Regions from separate parts of the Homo sapiens genome. Here region 2 is linked to region 1. The links are contacts of gene promoters, found by promoter capture Hi-C in human tissues and cell types (Jung and others, 2019). All regions are on one chromosome and are shown on one strand. The core of a region is centred on a gene start or on the middle of the fragment in contact, and the rest is flanking DNA. Distances in the headings are between cores, read along the strand shown. Region 1 holds the start of DR1 (down-regulator of transcription 1). Region 2 has its middle 12 kb from the start of ABCD3.

Region 1 (4,113 bases), core at 1,170-3,669:
ATGACAGCAATCACACATACAATGTAAAAATAAATACACAAGGGAAAAAATAGACAACTTGGCTTTCATTTTACTTGCTAGAGTATTCAGCACACCAAACAAGTAGAAAAAAAAAAAACTAGTACTAGTTTTAAGAATCAAATATGCTTTTTCCTAGGGATTTTTCTGCTTGTGTACTGAAATGGCAGGATATATTTTAAAACTACTTTCAAGACGTCATAAAGGATTAAAAATGAATCATTTAATCCTTTTGTCAATACTGAGAGTAAAATATTGGATATGGTCAATATAAGCAGATGTGTTCTCTACTTCAGTACAACAGGAAAGTCACATTTTAAAAAGTTAAATTATAAAAATTAAGTGATAGACAACCACCTGCCTATCAAAATGATTAAAATTAATCATTTTTCCCTGATTTCACAAGCAATCAATAACTTTAATTAGATTATTACAAAAGGCAAGTTCTCACCTCAAATTGAGTACAACTCTTTCACAAGAGTACATGTAAAAATATCGCAAAAGGTACGTTCCCGAAACATTATGAATAGTAAATATGTTTCTCCTCTCTGAAACCACCAGAATACAGTCCCCCAAATCCCTATTACGGGACCAAATCCTTTCCAGGATAAAAGAAACTGTTGAAGTTTTCAGAAGTGCTGTTCCATAAAAGCCTAAGTGTATACATTCAAATAGGAATGACAGCAGGAAAGGACGGGGAAATTTTCCGTTAAAAAAAAAACTTGCATAAACTTTCAATCAAAGATTTCAAAACTTATCTCCACAGAATAGAACAAAGCAAACGACATAAAAGCAAACGAAAAGAAAAAAACGAAAATTTAAAGTTCACCCTATTCTTACAGAATGGAACAGGAGTTATTTGGTAACTCATTCATGAACGTACCATCAAACCATTTTTAGAGCAGAAAACATACACCTTTTATTTAACAACGATAAACTTGACAACGTTGAACACATTGTATGTTAAGAATTTTTTAACTCATGTGTTCAGAAAATAAATCTTTTCCTCTACATTGGTGAAAGGTCAGGTGGGGAAGGGGGTGCTCTGTCTCCACCCACGTTGAAGTTCCTCCGTCTGAATTTTAACTTTCCAAAGGAGAATTTCTGCGTTCCTTAATTATTATCTAAGTTCAACTTCAGGCAAGTAATTCTTGTTGCTTCGGCTTACCTGGCTGTAAAGTGAGATCACTCTTATTCTTTACGTTTTGGGGACGCTGACCTAAATGTTTGCACTCCTTACATGTATTCGCTGGATGAAAAGTACTGCAAAAATGCTACAAAGGGATTGTTTTTAAAGCACCGGCTGCCTACATGCCAGTCTGGCTTTTTCATTAAGTTACTTACCAGGGAAGAGGAATGGAGGCTTTGACACGAAAGGGTCACGCGATTAGCAGACTGCTACCCTAGAACCTCATTCAAACCAGCTCTCACACACGACTTACCTTGTATGACATGCTCTGGTGAGATGGTCTTCTTTTCCGATTTGTTACAAATCTCATTGGCTTCAGAAGATATAAGGTGAATGAATTCAGTGCAGCAGTTCACCACCAGCTCTCGAGCATCGTTGGCCACCCGGACATTAGGAAGAGTCTCTTTGATCATTTTATTGATAGCAGCTCTGGGGATAGTGAGATCATCATCGTTGCCAGACGAGGAAGCCATAGTACCTTCCTGTTTCTCGCGCCCCGGCTTTTAAAAACTCCCCAGCTCTGGTCCACTACTCCACCGAGATTTCTCAAAAAGTCGCCCTCGGAGAGTGATCCCGGGGGGTGCTTTGCGAAGAGGGTGCAGAAAATGAACGGAGGAGCAGCTGGCTTGAGGGCTGGGAACACTCGCGTGTGTGAGAGATTTAGGATGAGTTTGGGAAGAAAGTGGGGGCCCGAGGATTCTAGAGAGAGCACAGCCCAGGCTGAGGAGGGGAAAGCGCGGTGGTCCGGAAATTTGAGCGGCTGGGGAACCACCTTCGTGTCTCCTCAGAGGGGCGGGCGCTGTCGCCTAACTGGTCCCCAACGGCGTCGGAGCAGAGGCAAGATCCAGGGGCACTGGCCTCGCCGCGGTACCGGGCGGGTACCCAGCGGGCTCGGCTCTATAGAGCCCGAGGCCCCGCTGCCGCTGCCGCCGCCGCCAGCAGCCGTTGCCGCCGCCTCGGCCAAACCATCCTTCAGACACCCGCGCCGCCGCCTCACAACATGTCCGCCGCTGCCGCTGCCGCTGCCGCTGCTGGAACGGCGACGGCCGCCTGGGAACTAATATGGACAGAGCCAGGCACAGTGGGAGTCGCAGTGGCTGCCGCCGTGGCCGCGTAGCCCGAACGCAGATCGTGGAAGCCGAAGACGCGGCAACGGTGGTCCCTCCAGATGCCAGGGAAGGTTTGCAGGAAGCCGCTCCCGACACCCTTTGCGCCACCGGAAGCCTCGTTCCCTCAGATTTCCCCCTCCCTCCCGGACCGACTTCCGGGTGTGGCTGCCGCCCTTCCCCCACCCACGCCGGCGGGAGCCGCCCGTTCGCGCTGCCAGCAGCTTCCGCCTGCTACGGTCCTGGCAAGCACCTCGGGATCCCATTCCTTCACAGGGACCCTAGCCAGGCAAGCGCGCGCCTCACTGTACCGGAGAGCTCCAAGCACGCGCTTGGTCTGGGGCCCGGACGCTACATCTGGGAAGGGGTGGGTGGCTGGGTAGATAGGCGAGGAAGGATCGTCTCTACCCTCTCTCAAGTAGCTGAGGCCTCCGAAACCTTCCCTAGCTGGATTTGGGGACAGAGGAGCGCTGGTATTGATAAAATAACTCTCTTTGCTATTCCTTTAGGAGCCCAAATGAGGATTGAAAGTGAGAAGAATGGGACCTGGGCTTGGGGGTGGGAGGTGGGGAAAGCAGAACCCCGTGTGCCTGTTTCTGCGTCGTCTGGAGAAAAAGCTTTTCAAGATGTCTGATAGACCTTATTCGGTTCAAAGCTCTCTAAAGTCCTTCACCTTTTTTTTTTTAAACTTCATGAAAAATGAAACATTTCAGAGAAGTTACTTGCCTAGAGGCAACTAAGTCGCCTAATGGCTAAGTAGGAAAGCAGAAGTCAGTTCCAACATAGTGGAAATGGAGTGGAAATGCATGGCATACAATGAGCTATATTAGAAGGTTCCCATTTAGACAGTTTTCATGTTGTATTCCATGTTGGCTTCTACAGGGGAAAAAAGTGTTAGAGCATCTTAAGCAACTGTTTTTACTTCTTTCCATAGTGACTAGTAATATCAACAGGTGTCAAGGTCTAAACAGAAATTGCATTTAAAAAAAAAAAAAGTGTGTCAGCCAGGCGTTGTGGCTCATCATACCTGTAAACCCAACACTTTGGGAGGCTGAGGCAGGGGGATCACATGAGCCCAGGAGTTCAAGACCCGCCTGGGCAACATAGTGAGACCCGTCCCTACAAAAAAAAAAAATATATATATATATATATATAATATATATTTATATATATAAATATATATTCCAACATCCCACTGTTTATAGTATAGCCTCTTCTATATGACAATATGAAACACGGGTTTTTTTTTCACCAGGCTTGGTGGCAGGCACCCGTAGTCCCGGCTACTCTGGAGGGCGAGGTGGGAGGATCGATTGAGCCAGGGGGTCAAGGCTGCAGTGAGTTGCGGTTGTGCCACTGCACTTCCAGCCTGGGTGACAGAACAAGATTCTTTGTCTCAAAAAAGATAAAAAAAAAAAAAAAGTAAAAAAACTGAGTCTGTCATACTGTCATGTGGAAGAAGAGGCTATACTATAAATAGTGGGATGTTGGAATTTCTAAAAACTAAACAAGACACTGTTGAAATCCATTTTGTCACTTTGGTTCATCAGATTCATTACTCTTGATACATATGATGGCAACTGGCTTGTTGACAGTGTTTTCTTAAAACGTTCTGTCTGAGCCCTATATGCTGCTCTCAAGAAGACATTACAGTTTATTATGCTATTTTTTCATTTAGCATTTTCTGCAGGACAACTTACTGGTTCTTTAATTTCTGAAGTGTAGACACTTGTTTTTCAGTGCTACTAAATTTAGTCAAAACAAAATTTCTTTGATTAAAAACAGTATTTTAATTAAATT
Region 2 (3,985 bases), core at 352-2,851, 1.1 Mb before region 1:
ACGCCCAGCTAATTTTTTTTTTTTTTGGATTTTTTTAGTAGAGATGGGGTTTCACCATGTTGGCCAAGCTGGTCTTAAACTCCTCACCTCAAGTGATCCCCCCACCTTGGCCTCCCAAAGTGCTGGAATGACAGGCATGAGCCATCGCAGCAGCCTTGCATTCTGATTCTAGTAACCTAATCTGCTACCCTGATCCCGGTGTATATTGTCTTTCAAGACTTGGCTCAGTCAACGCTTTCTGTTATGTTTTCTCTATCTTTCTCTACCCTCAAGTCAAAATAAAATCTTCTTTGCTCCTCTATAATAGAAATGACAGCTCTGTATCGTACTGGTTTATTTACTTAACTTCTGCATCTCTTAGAGAATGAGTTCCTTCAGGAAAAGTTCTGTACGTTTTTTCTGCAAAGGGCCAAGTAATAAATATTTCAGGCTTCATGGGCCAGAGAACCTCAGCCACCACTATTCGGCTCTGCCGTTGTATCAGGAAAACAGCCAAAGACAATAATATAAATGAATCGGCATTGCTGTGTTCCAATAACACTTTATTTATGGACTCTGAAATTCGAATTCCCTGTAGTTTTCAAATGTCAAGAAATATTATTTTTTGTTTGTTGTTGTTTCTTTATTGACCATTTAAAAATGTAAAAGCCATTCTTAGCTTGCAGGCCATACAAAAACAGAAGGTAGGCCAGATTTGGTCCACAGGCTATAGTTTGCTGACCATCGCTTTAGCAGCAGGAATGAATTGATTATAAAATAACTACCAAGAACAAACTCGAGATCCAGATTCCTCAGTTTTTAGTCTAGCCTGGTGCTCCTGATGAGCTGGATAATATTCACATACACAAATCACAACCAGTTGTAAGATACAATGGTTGAGAAAGCCCCATTTATAATAGAAACAAAAAAGATAAAATATTTAGGAATAAACTTACAAGAAATGTGCAAAACCTATATGAAGAAAATTACAAAACATTCCTGAAACACAGAAAAGAAGACTTGAGCAAATAGAAAGACACCCCTTGTGCTTGGTAATCCCAGCGCTTTGGGAGGTCGAGGCGGGCGGATCACCTGAGATCAGGAGTTTGAGACCAGCCTGACCAATATGGAGAAACCCCATCTCTACTAAAAATACAAAATTAGCCGGGCATGGTGGTGCATGCTTGTAATTCCAGCTACTCGGGAGGCTGAGGCAGGAGAATCCCTTGAACCCAGGAGGTGGAGGTTGCGGTGAGCTGAGATCGGGCCATTGCACTCTAGCCTGGGCAGTGAGAGCAAAACTCCGTCTCAAAAACAAAAACAAAAACAAAAGGATGTTTCAATATCATCAGTATGTCAGTTCTCCCTAAGCTAATTTATAAGCTTAATGCAATTTTAAGAAAAAAATCCTATGAGGTTTTTTGTTGTTGTTGTTGTTGTTGTTGTTTTTATGAAGGTAGACAAGTTCATCCTAAAGTTTATAGGGGAAAATAAACATCAAAGAGCAACTGAAAAGGCAGGTTATAGCCCCACTAGATAGTGAAACATACTATAGCCTTTTGGCTGTAACCACCATCTTTCAGTCATTCGCCAAGATGATGAACACAAAGAGAAAGAGGAGAGCCACCCAATACATGTTCTCCAGGCTTTTTAGGAAACATGGCATTGCTCCTTTGGCCACATACATGCAAATCTATCAGAAAAGTTAAGTCATAAACATCAAGGAGATGGGCACTTGTTGAAAAAGGAACACGGCACAAGTGTTACCATGCCATAACTGGAAGTCTACGATGTTCTCAGGATGTTGTTGACATTGCTATAAACCAATACTTTAAGGACAAGATTCTTATCAAGAGAATCAGTGTGTGTACTGAGCACATTACATCATTACATACTCTAAGAGCTGAGATAGCTTCCTGAAACGCAAGAAGGAAAATGATCAGAAAAAGAAGGGAGCCAAAGAGAAAGGTACCTGGATTCAACTGAAGCGCCAGCCTGTTCCACCCAGAGAAGCACACTTTGTGAGAAAAACTGGAAAGGAACCTGAGCTGCTGTAACCTATTCCCTATGAATTCATGGCATAGTAAGTGTAAAACAACAACAACAACCCACTGGACTGTAAAAAAAAAAAAAAAAACAAAACAAAATACTATAAAGACTCTATCATTAAAACAGTGTGGTACTAGTACATGAATAGACAGATCGACAGAATGGAAAGTCCAGAAATGGAGACAAGTGCATATAAAAATTTAGTGTATGATAAAGGTAATATCCCTTCTCACTCAGGCAAATATAGTTGTTTTTTTTTTTAATAAATGGTGTTGAGATCGCTGGATAACCATTTGAAAAAAAGTTAAATTCCTTCCTCAGACCATACACAGGAATAAACTCCACATGGATCACAGATATAAATGTGGAAAATAAAATTACACAAGTACAACAAGAAAACATGGGTAAATACCTCTGTAATCTAGATATCAGAAAAGGTTTTCTGTTACTAAAAATTCAAATGCACTAAAAGAAAAAATTGATAAATATAATTTTTAAAAATTTCTAAACTTTGGCATGCCAAAAACCATAAGCAAAGTCAAAAGGCAAACAACAAACTAGAAGAAAACATTTGCAGCCTACATTGCAAATAAAAAATCAGTATCCCTAACTGATAAAGAACTTATAAAACTTAAGGAAAAAGACCAAAAATCCTACAGAAAAATAGGCAAATGACAAGAACAGACAATTTACAAAAAGAGATACAAAAGCTGGTCTTTAAACACGTTGGAAGATGTTCAACATCGCTCCTAATAAAGAAATGCAAGATAAACTATACTAAAGTCAGTTTCTCACCCACAACTTTAGCAAAAAAATTCAAAAGCTTGATAATGGCGGTGTCTCATGCCTGTAATCCCAGTACTTTGGGAGGCCGAGGCAGGTGGATCACCTGAGGTGGGGAGTTCAAGACCAGCCTGACCAACATAGAGAAACCCTGTCTGTACTAAAAATACAAAATTAGCCAGGCGTGCATGCCTGTAACCCCAGCTACTCGGGAGGCTGAGGCAGGAGAATTGCTTGAACCCAGTAGGCGGAGGTTGTGATGAGCCAAGATGGGGCCATTGCACTCCAGCCTTGGCGACAAGAGTGAAACTCCGTCTCAAAAAAAAAAAAAAAAAGCTTGATAATGTTACTATGTGGCAAGGTATGGAGAAAATAAATACCCTCATGCATTGCTGGTAGGAATGAAAAGCAATTGAGGGGAATTTGGCTACACAGATTCAAATATAAAACTATACAGGCATTTACCCTAGAGTGTTACCTTTTGGAATTTACATATACTAGGAAGTAGATACACACCCAAAAATACAAAAATGCAATATGCACAAGATTATTTTGAAATAGCATAATATTGAACACAAACCAACTGTTCAAGTATAGGACACTAATTAATCTTTGGTATATACACATAATGAGTTCTATGCAGCTACACAAACTATAATAGGGAAGATTTCTTTTCTGTTTGTTTTTTTTTTTCTTTTTTTTTTTTTCGAGATGGGTCTCGCTCTGTCACCCAGGCTGCAGTGCAGCGGCGCAATATCAGCTCATTGCAACCTCCGCCTCAAAATAGGGAAGATTTCTAGGAACTGAAATGAAATAATTTCCAGGAGGTATAATTAAGTTTTTTATAAAAGCAAAAGAGCTTATGAAGGATGCTAACTTTAACATATGAAAGAAGGGAAAATAAAGATATATACATATATTTATTTAACTTTGCGAAAAGTAATACTAGATGAAAAATCAGATAACAATGAAATTTGTGACCTACAAGGGGATGCAGAAATAGAATGGAAGGGATGTAAAAGAGTAACACTTCTCTGAGACTATCTTTTTGCATAAGCTTGACTCTTGGAAGCATGATTACATTCTACATATTCAGAAATGAAATTCAATGAATAAGAATAAGAAGGAAAAAATGAAAAACTGAAAGCAAACCACAACAAATGAAACTGATTTT

Evidence for each region. Contacts are between HindIII fragments. The study calls those that stand out against the background at their distance.
Region 2: a fragment that was not itself captured here is called in contact with the fragment with the promoter of DR1 in region 1 in 1 of the 25 tissues and cell types used here (hippocampus).

The regions. Positions count from the first base shown.
Region 1 is chr1:93,344,213-93,348,325 of GRCh38, reverse strand. It overlaps DR1 (down-regulator of transcription 1), which reads right to left and starts at 2,419. Exons shown (of 3, transcript NM_001938.3): 1 at 1,461-2,419. The coding sequence starts at 1,680. CCDC18-AS1 (CCDC18 antisense RNA 1) reads left to right here and starts at 2,515. Exons shown (of 9, transcript NR_034089.1): 1 at 2,515-2,602. RefSeq lists enhancers at 1,580-1,789, 1,850-1,919, 2,289-2,824. The HindIII fragment of the contact is 15,958 bases long and covers 1-4,031 here.
Region 2 is chr1:94,404,472-94,408,456 of GRCh38, reverse strand. It overlaps a transcript of ABCD3 not described here and the pseudogene RPL21P26. Among named protein-coding and RNA genes, the nearest start is that of ABCD3, 12 kb to the left of the region's middle. The HindIII fragment of the contact is 6,783 bases long and covers 1-3,985 here.